3 separate regions of the Homo sapiens genome follow, and regions 1 and 3 are each linked to region 2. The links are contacts of gene promoters, found by promoter capture Hi-C in human tissues and cell types (Jung and others, 2019). All regions are on one chromosome and are shown on one strand. The core of a region is centred on a gene start or on the middle of the fragment in contact, and the rest is flanking DNA. Distances in the headings are between cores, read along the strand shown. Region 1 overlaps PIK3CA (phosphatidylinositol-4,5-bisphosphate 3-kinase catalytic subunit alpha). Region 2 holds the start of ACTL6A (actin like 6A). Region 3 has its middle 18 kb from the start of ZNF639.

Evidence for each region. Contacts are between HindIII fragments. The study calls those that stand out against the background at their distance.
Region 1: a contact is called between a fragment that was not itself captured here and the fragment with the promoter of ACTL6A in region 2, in 1 of the 25 tissues and cell types used here (heart right ventricle).
Region 3: a contact is called between a fragment that was not itself captured here and the fragment with the promoter of ACTL6A in region 2, in 1 of the 25 tissues and cell types used here (small bowel).

What each region holds. Positions count from the first base shown.
Region 1 is chr3:179,180,126-179,183,950 of GRCh38, reverse strand. The region is part of intron 1 of PIK3CA (phosphatidylinositol-4,5-bisphosphate 3-kinase catalytic subunit alpha); the gene reads right to left. Among named protein-coding and RNA genes, the nearest start is that of PIK3CA, 34 kb to the right of the region's middle. The HindIII fragment of the contact is 3,251 bases long and covers 173-3,423 here.
Region 2 is chr3:179,561,013-179,565,101 of GRCh38, reverse strand. It overlaps ACTL6A (actin like 6A), which reads right to left and starts at 2,176. Exons shown (of 14, transcript NM_004301.5): 1 at 1,985-2,176. The coding sequence starts at 2,009. RefSeq lists a silencer at 2,085-2,314. The HindIII fragment of the contact is 12,889 bases long and covers 1-4,089 here.
Region 3 is chr3:179,303,380-179,307,523 of GRCh38, reverse strand. No RefSeq gene overlaps it. Among named protein-coding and RNA genes, the nearest start is that of ZNF639, 18 kb to the left of the region's middle. The HindIII fragment of the contact is 7,407 bases long and covers 1-4,144 here.

The sequences.
Region 1 (3,825 bases), core at 549-3,048, 380 kb after region 2:
CAGGCCCTAATGGCTTCCATTACATAATTATGCATCAGTTAACACAGTGTCATAAAACATATTTTAGTTCCCAAAGTATTTAATATACAACAAGGATTAGACACTGGAAAAAGTCTGGCTCTAGATGTACTGAGTATCCTTGTTTGCCATATAAATACTTAGGTCCCTGACATTTTTGTCTAGTTATTTATCTATCCTTGCTATTATCTTTTTGTCCACATCACAACCTCAGCCTATGTCCTTGGACTGATTTCCTTTCTTAGGAGCTATTATAGTAATCTCTTATTCTTTCCTCTTATACCATATTGATATATTATTGGTATTCTTACAAATAGATATAAAGCACAGAATGTATAGTGCACTGAAATTTTATTGCACTTAAGGTGATCACTTAATGTCTATTCTTAACCTGCTCATTTCAAATGCCAAATTTATTGGTCAAAACAACTTTTTCCTGGCTCTACATAAATTAATCAGATAAATCCATAAACAGCTTCTTGCAAAAATAATACATTTTCTTCCAACTATACTCTAATGAACGTAAGATATTGTATTTTTTTAAGTGAATACACCCCAAGTCTATCTGGGATGTTACGACATTGGATGAAAGACATGATATACAGTAAAAATTTGATTTAAATAACAATGCTTTTTCCATGATAAAGACCAAACAATAACTTTATATCCTGATGTAATTGGTTGCCATCTGCCCCATTTTCTGGCAATAACAAAATATCCTAGTATTATGTTAGTAATAATGAAAATGTCCATTGCAAGCAATTATTGACTAATAGTGATTTATCATCCTTCAGTATTTGATCTCTGGCAAAAGGGCTATTTCACAACAGGAAAGCTTGAAGTAATAACTTTGGCAAGCAAAGAAACTCAGATCTCCCAGAAGTGCAATCAGAGAGAGGGTAGCTTAATTTCAGCACAAGTGTCACCTAGCTAAGATGTGAAGACAAGTTCTATGAATGAAAGCAACAACAATGTGAAGTCATGTAAGCACAGATTTCTAAAAAATCCATCTTTTCGATAATACAATACAGCCAAAATACTTCAATGGTGGGAGAGAAATATTAGTAAGTGGTCTTTATTTTCCCTTTCAAGCATTTACTATTTATTTATACTTATGTACAGTTCAATGTACCAAGTATCTTGGAAATTATAATTACTATACCTTAAAAAGCAAGCAATGAGAATGACAAACTGAAATGGGTATAACTGTGTAAAAGCAGCAACATACATGATCAGTGAGTAGAATATTACCCTTTTTTTTTGAGACAGGGTCTCTCTCAGTTATCCAGGCTGGAGTACAGTGCTACGAACACGGCTCACTACAGCCCCAACCCCAGGCTCAAGCAATTCTCCTGCCTCAGCTTCACGAGTAGCTAGGAACTAGGACTACCTGTGTGTGCTACCATGCCCAGCTAAATTTTTTTTAATGCAGAGATGGGGTCTCGCCATGTTGCCCAGGCTGATCTTGAACTCCTGGGCTCTGGTGATCTTTCTGCCTCTGACTTTCAAAGTGCTGGGATTAGAGGCATGAGTCATAGCACCCAGCCAATACTGCCACTCTTATTCACTGATGCTCTGTATGACATTAGTTAACCACCCAAGGCATGCAGTTAAACAATAAATTACTTACAATGATTTAATACATTAAAATGCTTCTTTATAAAGCTTATCAACTGACAAAAACTTTTAAACTGGCTATTTAACATAAGTCATTAAAAGCTGTCAATTATTCCAAACAACTGCTTCACATGTTATGATTCATGAGCTAACTTCTGCTGACATTAAAATAAAGGCACAGAGGAAGACGTAAGAAAGTTTGAAAAAGGGAACTTTAAGATCTAAAACTTTAAGCCGTCACTAGGGAGTAAAGAGGTAATTCAGGAAAGGGAACGACTGAAGAGATTAAAGTGAAGAGAAATGGGAAAGTTTTTAGGTTGGACAGAGATACCGTAAAGGACAACTCTTTTGTGTATGTGCCCAATAATTATAATTACAGAGATAAATATGTGATGGAGTATCCTGACATGGTAAAAATTCAGAGTGAGAGCATCTAGTACTATGGTATATAAAGAAGACATTCAAACCTCTATTTCTTAAATTACAAGACTTTAAAGGTTAAAATAAAACTAGAATATAATCTTTGAACTTCACCTAGCTGATACTCTTTTGATAGGTGCTTTATGGTGTATGTGACTATGATTTAGTAGACTTATACTAATTTTGAGGAACATAAGGAAAAAAGGCAGAGAAAATATGTTTAATTATCTCCACTGTCAATATTGGAAGTTAGAAATTTAACTTCTGACATAAACCCCTCAAAATAATGAAGTATTAAAAAAATAAAATTATGGGTCCTATTTCTATTGCATAATTCACAGAATTAAAACAATTAGTTAATTTGTTTAAAAAATCTACTTTCCCATCTAGAATCAGCTAATTAAGATGTGCTTGGTTTCTTTGTTACAACTGGGTTTATAATACTAGTGTTCTTACCCATCACTAGTCTACTCACAATAGTATCATTAGCACTAAGATCTAAATAACAGTGCCGTATTTATGACTGCACTTTAGTTTCCACAAAAGCAAAATTCTGAGAACAGCATGAGTCATTATCCCTAGGGTAAAAAAAAAATAATGTTTCTTTGGTCAGAATATGAAACTTATTGCTGATACCAGTAATTTAGTCTAGAAATTCCTTTTCTGAATAAAAGGAACAGAATGTTTCTTTTCTCTATTCACACACTCCAAAACTAACAGAACTGTCCATCTGTCTGCTTTTACTACTCTCCATATCTGGTGTGTGGTGACAGAAAAACAACCTTTAATCTAGCTATTTTCAGTACTGCTCTTTTGTTCTTCTGTTCTCTCAGTTTGTCTTTTTGCCAGGACAAAACACACAAATACACACACATAGAGACACACACACTCTCTCCGACCTTTCTCTTCCTAGTGGGGTATTTATGACAAAATCATGCATTAATACACAGAGAACATTCTAAACATGGATATGTATATCCATAATGTTAAATGTTAAACAGTTCTCAGGTTCACATTTTATATTTCATCTTAAAACATCTTCATTAATTAAAAGTTACAAAGGTAAAGAAATACTGATGTTATTATTTAATTAAAGTGTGTCCCCCCAAATTTCCTCAATAGAATGTTGAAATGATCTCTGTTGTTTTTATGGCCTCCTTTAATTGTTTCATTTGTTGGTACCTCTTACTCTGCTCATTATTCAAATGTGGAATACATTCTTCATGACATCACCACTTTCTCAATCTCCAAGGTTAAAACATTTGGTGCTTTCAACTCCTCTCTTGCATGACATCACTTCCACCCCTTAAATTACCCTCAAATTCATCACCTTTTTTTTTCAATCTTCTCTATCACTATTAGACCCTAAAAGAGTTCTCATATGCAGGACTGATCTGTCTCTAATTCAACAAGCATTCATTAAGCAATTACCTTCTATTAAGACACTAGCAGCTGAAGCAAAGGGATGGGTGATGGAAAGGAAAGGAGGAGAAAAACACTCATACAAGTATATAAATGAAGTATATAAATGAGGTTGAAAAGACCTTATTATCTAACAATCTACAAGGCAGAACGTGGTAATTTTAGGAGAAAGTGGGCCTGATTTCTGACAGGTACAGAATGAGAAGAGTGCAACAGGTTAAGTAGACAGTATGAACTAAGACAAGAGGCCCTGAAAGCACAAAGTATCCAATTTCTCCCCACCCACTTCATTATCTACAGTGTCACTAGAATTGGCTATCTAAAAACATATATCTAATTACACCATTA
Region 2 (4,089 bases), core at 927-3,426:
TAAGATGCTATCAACTACATGATGCACCACTATTTCCTGCATCACTAACAAAATAATATGGCAATTAAACTCTGCCACGCCAGCACTGTTAAGACATATTCTGACTGGGGGCAGTGGCTCAAACCTGTAATCCTAGCACTTTGGGAGGCTGAGGTGGGAAGACCGCCTGAGCTCAGGAGTTCAAGACCCATCTCTATTAAAAAAAAAAAAAAAAAAGACATATTCCAACTTCAGCTGTTTAAATGTGGGAAAAAATGTACAACGAAGAATCAGTGAAATACGGTGTCTATTTACCTAACAGACTCATCTACAAGACTGAGCTTCTTGATGACAAGAGCCTATACCTGCCACATAGCAAGTACTCAAAAAACATTTTTGTGAAATAGAAAAAATCCAACATATCAGCTCATTTTCCTGTCCTAATTAGTTTAGTAAACTGGATATGGTGGAATTTTAATTTAAGACTCTAAATTCTCAGAATTTTACATCTGTTCCTTTTCCAGGATGGGAGATACATCTAATTCCTGTACCCTGCTTCATTAAAAATCAAGCCCCATGAACCCAAAGTAGGAGAGTGGCCATGGGAGGCAGGAGGCTTAATAGAACCACAGAGTTCTGGATGTTTAAAACCTAGGATGCAATTTCTAGTCTATAAAAATCCTCAAGAATTGAACCTCTACTCTACTAAAAAGGCTTTTGTCTTTTTTGAGGATTTTAATGTTTTTCTCCTTCCAAGTTTAGGGGTGATGTGATTTTCTTGGGGAACATGAAGGAAAAATCTTATTTTTGTTGTTTCCTACCTGTAAAATGACATCCTTTATAGAAACAGCATCACTACTAGACACAGTAACAACAGCAATAGTCTGGATTTGTTTTCTGGGTCTCTAACTCATCAAACACAACCCAACACATGAATTATATGTATCAGTGTTTCGATTAACCTGCAGATCTTGCAAAAATGGAGGCTCTAAATCAGTAGATTCTGAATGACGCGTGAGATCCTGCATTTCTAACAGGCTTGCAGGTGATGCTGACACTGCTGGTCCATGGGCCAGACTTTAAGTGGCAAATGCAGCATTATTTCATTTAACCTTCATGCCCACCCCCATCGGCTAGGAATTATTCCATAAATGAGGCCTGAAGTTGGAAAGTTACATAAACTGCCCAAGACCAAAGCGCTTAATAAAGAGTGAGGTGGATATTTCAACCCAGGTCTGTAACCCCCGGCACCTGGTAATCTTCCTACCACACCACAGTCTAATCAAAGAAAGTGAAAAAATAACACGCCTAGGACCCCCAGCAAACTTTCTGGGCATCCTTAAATTACACGTGCTCCTGAATTGATCTCAAACAGACCCGCCCACGAGTCACTCTGGAGACTCCGCAGCCAAAAAACAGGCAAGAGTTACTGAAAGGTGAGGCAGCTCGCGCATGGGGCGCAGACGGGGAGGAGGCAGTACCCTAAGTGGCCGCCGCTTCCCTAGTCAGTTCTACGGCTTGAGGCTCGCTTTGCCACCTATGGGACACTCTGGGAACCCTCCGTCCACGCTTGCAAACCGCCGGGACCTTCCAAGTTTAGGCGGGCGCACACGCGTCCCGACACAGCTGAGTCCAGGAGGCACTCGGGGAGATGCGACCCTGGGGCGGTCACCCAAGCCGGGGCCCGGCGGCCGGCTAGACTGAGCCTCCCGCCCAGCCCCGAGGCTCCCTAGAGAACCGAGCGCGCACCCCAAAACCCTGCTCCTCCGGGGACAGAGGCAGGAAGAGGCCACAGAGAGCCGCCACTTCAGGGAGCCCGAGGAGCACGGCGAGCCGGGTGGGCTCCGGGGGCGGGCAGAGCGTGGGGCGGGGACGGGGCGGGGAGGCCGGGGTCCCGAGAGGGGGAGACCGGAAGGGAACGCCGGGGAGGGGAGGGCTGGGAGCGGCGGTTACAAACCCCACACGCCGAAAAGGCGCGCTCTCTCGTCCGGCCGCACTCACTCACCTCCCCCGTACACGCCGCCGCTCATGGCTGCTGCCGGCGCGACTCCTACCCTAAGGGCTAACTGGCGAAGTGACTGCAGTGGCCGCGACTGCGAGTCTCGAGGAGCGATAGCCCCTGACTCCCTTAACTTCCACCGCCACCCACCTCAGGCAACAAAGCGGCGTCCACACACCCCGGAGCTCAGCCACACTTGCTGGCTCCTCCTATCAGCCAATCACTAGGGTCCAGGCCTAAGTCTAGCCAATCAGAATGCGGCTGCGCCGCATCCCCGCCGCGGCCCAGCAGGTTTAGCCAATCGAAGGCAGCCATGGGGGCGGGAAAGAGGAAAGCGACAGCAGGACAGAAGGAGTTGGGTTGCGGAGCTGGAGGGGGCGGAGCTTCCCGGGTGGGCGAGGGAATGGGCGGAGGCAGTGGGAGAAGAAGGAGGAAGGCTGGAAGAAGCATGGGGGCGGGACTAGGAGGTGCGTCTGGGCGCTGAGGAGCGGCGGGAACCCGGGTAGGGGAAGGTAGACCCCTGGAAATTGAACGGGTGTCTCCACGCCGAGATTCCTGTCCAGTGACTGTGGGGAATGCGGATTTCTTTCTTTTTTTCTTCAGAAAAAGTATTTTAAACTAACTTTTATGTTGAAAAAGTAAAAATTTTGCGCTCCACTTTGGGATAGGGGAATCAGTAAATCAGACAAATTGATAGGATCTTGCAGTTTTTAAAATGGTTATTAATAAGTAAAAGAAGAATGAAATTATGCGGTATCCCAGCTAAACCTAGGTAGCGCTTTAAAAACTATTAAAAAACTTACTCATTTCTTTAAAAAAAAAAAAAAATTTCAGGCCGGGCGTGGTGGCTCATGCGTGTAATCCGAGCACTTTGGTAGGCCGAGGCGGGCAGATCACAAGGTCAGGAGTTCGAGACCAGCCTAGGCAACACAGTGAAACCCTGTGTCTACTAAAAATGAGAAAAGTAGCCGGGCCTGTAGTCCCAGCTACGCAGGAGGCTGAGGCAGGAGAGTCGCTTGAACCCGGGAGGCAGAGGTTGCAGTGAGCCGAGATTGCGCCACTGCACTCCAGCCTGGGCGACAGAGCAAGACTCTGTCTCAAAAAAAAAAAAAATCAATTTCTTTTATCCTGTGAGAGGTATTTAAAACAGCTAATCAATCTTCATTCAAGCAAGCACCCAATCCTAAATAGGCATCCCAAAAACAGCCTTAGTCCCCTATTTCTACCAGCCTAGTCCAGATCACCTTCCTTTATCCCCAGATTACTGCAACAACTTGTTGCTGTGTCCCTTTGCCACTCTTGATCAAGGGAGCTTCATCTGTGAAAACGCCCAAACCCGATCAGGACACTCCAGCGCTCAAACCCTTAAGATTGCTGCCTATCCTTGTAATTGATCCTTGTCTAGAGTCTAGACATGCAGTGCCTACTTTTAACCTTAGAAACGATTGACTAAAACCCCATCAGTCTCAGTGGCAGAGGGTGGCAGAAAGTGATGAGGCAGTAGGGTGGGAAAAAAGGCTAGCGGGAAAACTCTTTCCCATTCACTTGACAATATAATCACAGTGTATCTGACCATTTAGAAAAGCCCTATTAACCCAGTGAGATAATGCAGATGTGTGTCAGCACACTATGGCACTAGGGCCAAATCCAGTCTTTTGTGTGTGGGGTGGGGAGGGGAGGTGGGGAAAAGGGGAAGCAGGTGGGAAGACTGCCTTTTTTTTTTTTTTTTTTTGGCCTTGAGCTAAGAATGATTATTTCTGTTTTTAAATTATTATTTAAAATATTTTAAAGAATAATATGTGACAGGTTGGGCATGGTGGCTCACAGCTGTAATCCTAGCACTTTGGGAGGTCCAAGCAGGAGGATCGCTTGAGGCCAGGAGTTCAAGACCAGCCTGGGCAACACAGGGAGACCCCCGTCTCTACAAAAAATTTTAAAATTATCTGGGTATGGTGGTGCATGCCCCCTAGCTACTCTGGAGGCTAGGGTGAGAGGATTGCTTGAGCCTGGGAGTTCAAAGCTTCAGTGAGTCGTGATCTCCCCACTGCACTCCAGCCTGGGTGACAAAGCAAGTCCCTGAAAAAAAAAAAAAAAAAGAAAAAAAGAAAACA
Region 3 (4,144 bases), core at 972-3,471, 260 kb after region 2:
ACAGAAGCTGGCAAGGCTGTGGAGAAAACACTTTTACACTGTTGGTGGGAATGTAAATTAGTTAAACCATTGTGGAAGACAGTGTGGCCATTCCTCAAAGACTTAGAATCAGAAACACCATATGACCCAGCAATCCCATTACTGGGTATATACCCAAAGGAATATAAATCATTCTATTATAAAGATGCATGCATATGTTCATTGCAGCACTATTCACAATAGTAAAGACATGCAATCAACCCAAATGCCCATCAGTGATAAACTGGATAAAGTCTGCATTTCTATAGTTAGACTTCAGCCCCCTTCCCTGACTCAGCTGTCAGAAGACTGGCTTACAGACTTAGAAACAGGATGATTCCTCCCTTGGGAAACCAGAGAATCGAAGGGAAAAAACTTTAGTTATGGGCAGGGGACAATGTGGGCCCCCAGGAAAATAGCTGGGTCCTGGCCTGATCACCCTACAATAAAGGCTACCACTGTGCTCCCAAACAGCTTTGTAGAGCCTTACTTACTCTTAAATGTGGGCAGTACCCAAGGACCATAAGAGATTTGGGAAAAGCATTCAACAAGAAAGAAAATAAACACTGTTTTTTTTTTTTAAATTAGAAGAAAAGAGACAATCCAGGGAGAAGAAGATTTTGAGCCATGAAATAGGAAAAAAAAAAACAAAACTAAACTAAAAAAGGAACATTCAACAATCAAGAAAACGTTTTTGATAATTAAAAATGCATTAGCTAAATTACTAGTTAGATTAGGGACCGGGTGCAATGGTTGATGCCTGTAATCTCAGCACTTTGGGAGGCTGAGGCTAGTGGATGTCTTGAGCTCAGGAGTTTGAGACCAGCTTGGGCAACATGGTAAAACTCTGCCTCTACAAAAATTAGCTGGGCATGGACCTGCAGTTCCAGCTAGTCAAGAGGCTGAGGTGGGAGGGTGGCTTGAACCTGGGAGGTCAAGGCTGCAGTGAGCCAAGATTGTGTCACTGCACTCCAGTGTGGGTGACACGGAAAAAAACAATTAAATCAACAAAAGTTTAAAAAATAATATGAGGAAGTTGGATCATTTGAGCAGATCCAATGCTCAAATGAGGAGTTCCAAAATGACAGAACATAGAAAAGAGAGGAGAAAATAATCAGGAAAAAGTATTAGAAACTTTCTCAGAATAAAAGCTCATGAGTCCAGATTGAAGGATCCATAGAGTGCCCAGCAAAATAAATGGAAAAAAAATTCCTACGCCTTGATGGAGCATTGTGAGATTTTAGAACATCAGGATTAAAGAGAAGATTTTAAAACTCAAGGAATGGAGAAGGGGGTAGAACACATACAAAGCATAGAAAACTGGACGATGATGAAGCAATATCTTCAAATTTCCAAGGGAAAATGAAATCCAATCTAGAATTCTATAGCTAACATACTATCAATCAAATAAGGGTAGCATAAAGACAACCAAGGCTTTAAAACCCTTACTGTAACAAATTGTTTTTCAGGAAGCTCTGGATAATATACTCTATTGAAAGAGAGGGTGAATCAAGAAAGAAATATGTGAGCTCCAGTAACAACACAAAAGAAAAATGAGAATTGCCAGGATGATGGTAAATATAATTCCCAGAATACAATAATGTAGCAGGCCTAGAATTTTAAAAATCGAAATTAAAACGGAATGGTGGAGAGCTCCAGACATGTCTAAATTTAAAAACAAACAAAGTAGAATACACAGTATTTTTAAAAGCACCAAAAGGAGGTTTATACTTCTAGCACAGAGCTTGAAATGAATTAGAAAATTAAGCCAAATGAAGCACATATAAACTCCAAGGAAAATTAAAAGTGAAGTGGCTCAGGTAACAGCAATATGTATTTAGATAGTTGCTATAATATAAATACTAAATATTTAACAAGAATAATAAAAAAAAACATAAGGAAGTGAGTGTTTGGGTGTGGGTGTGTGCATGTTGTGAGGGTGGTTTTCCCACATAAACAGATGGAGGTAGAAGAGATCTAAACCCTTTTGATCAGGAATAGGATACCAGTAGAAGATATCTGAACTTGAAATATCAAATTCCTATATAATCATGATGTCTGGAATATGGAGTAAAGTGTCAGACACTATAGCCAAAAGAGTTGGAAGTGGCTGCCATTGGCAGGGCAGAAACTGGGTATGAGGAGGGGTGGAGGGAGGGACTGCTGCTGTATATTAGAAACCTTATGAAACTATTGGACTTGCCAGGCACGGTGGCTCATGCCTATAATCCCAGCATTTTGGGAGGCCGAGGCGGGCAGATCACTTAAGGTCAGGAGTTTGAGAGAAGCCTGACCAACATGGTGAAACCTGTCTCTACTAAAAATGCAAAAAATTAGCCGGGCATGGTGGTGTGCACCTGTAATCCCAGCTACTCGGGAGACAGGCAGGAGAATCGCTTGAACCCGGGAGGCGGAGGTTGTAGTGAGCCGAGATCATGCCACTGCACTCCAGCCTGGGGGACAGAGCAAGACTCCATCTCAAACAAACAAATAAGCAAACAAACAAATGCCAAAAACTACTGGACTTTTAAAAAATATGTACATATATTACTTTGATATAAGTAAAGCATTATCTTAAAAATTGTAATGAGACAGGAAAGAGGACAAGTGAAAACAATTGAAACCAAGTTTTCTGTTTCCTTTTTTCTGTTTCTCTTTGTGCCTCTGATTCACTCTCCCTGCCCCGTGGATGGGATTTATCAGAGCTCTGTGGGGTGGGAAGGACTAGAGAGGATGTGTCAGGGTAAGGGGATGGCTCTCAGCAGATCTGGACTCACAGCTTTGCCGACAGAGAGCAAAGGACTCTTCACCCCAACTCCAGTTAGTATAAGAATGACTTACACTTCTCTTTTCACAGCCCCCTGTGTATTTGTGAAGGCTGTTTTATTGTCTTCAGTACTCTTCCTCCCAATGAAGATGTATTTGATGATCACAGAAATATTTGTAAATATTTTATGTACTTGTGTTTACAAATATATTTCTTTTCTCAGAACGATTTGGAGCCTCATAATGATTCCTAGGGATACTAGTTACTGACTATTCCATGATGATACAGAAAAGAAAAAGACTAGATTAGTGACCACTTTTCTCATACATATTAACAAAAGCATGCACATATGTGGCACTACATCTTTTCAGTCTAATTCCTTGGCAGAAATTTGTCCTTGCTCCTCACCTGAGAGTGTGAAAAATGCAAAATCTCAAGTGCCACTTTGTTAGAACCTGATTGATTGATTGACCGATTAATTTAGAGACAAGGTATTGCTCTGTCACCCAGACCGGAGTGCAGTGGCACAACTGCAGTTTACTGCAGCCTTGACCTCTTAGGCTCAGTGGTCCTCCTGCCTCCACCTCCAGAATAGCTGAACCACAGGGACTTGCCACCATGCCTGGCTAATTTTTTTATTTTTTGTAGAGATGGGATTTCTTTATGTTGTCCAGGCTTATTTCAAGCAATTCTCCTGCCTGGGATTATGGGCATGAGCCACTGCGCTCAGCCCAGAATCTGATTTAGTCTGAAGCCTGGGTTTCTTTTTCTTTATTTGGCTCCCCAGGTGACTAGGTTGTTACCGAACCATCTGAACAAATAATAACTCTATTCCTATTTATTTCACATTTGTGACTGAGGTAAACAAACAGAGTCATTGTTTCCAAAATTTTGTGTGTACTTAAATCACCTGGGGATCTTTTAAAAACAAACAAACAAACAAAAAAACCCTTTCATTTTGAAACAATTATAGACTCACAGGAAGTTGCAAAGACAATAGAGAGAGGTCTTGTGTACCCTTCACCCTGTTTCCCCTAGTATTGACATTGTTATGTAACGTTAGTACAGCATTAAAGCCCAGAAATTGACATTAGTACAATGTGTGTGTAGTCAGATGCCATTTCATCACATATGAGATTCCTGTAACTGCAATCACAATACAGAACCAGTCCAAAACCACAAAGATCTCTCTGATGCTACCCCTTTATAATCACACCTCCTATCCCTTTCCCCCCGCTTCCCAGGTAACCTCTAACAACCACTGTGTTCCATCTCTATATTTTTGTGATTTTTGAGAATGCTGTACACATGGAATTATTCAGTGTGTGGCCTTTTGAGAGTGGCTTTTTCACTCAGCAT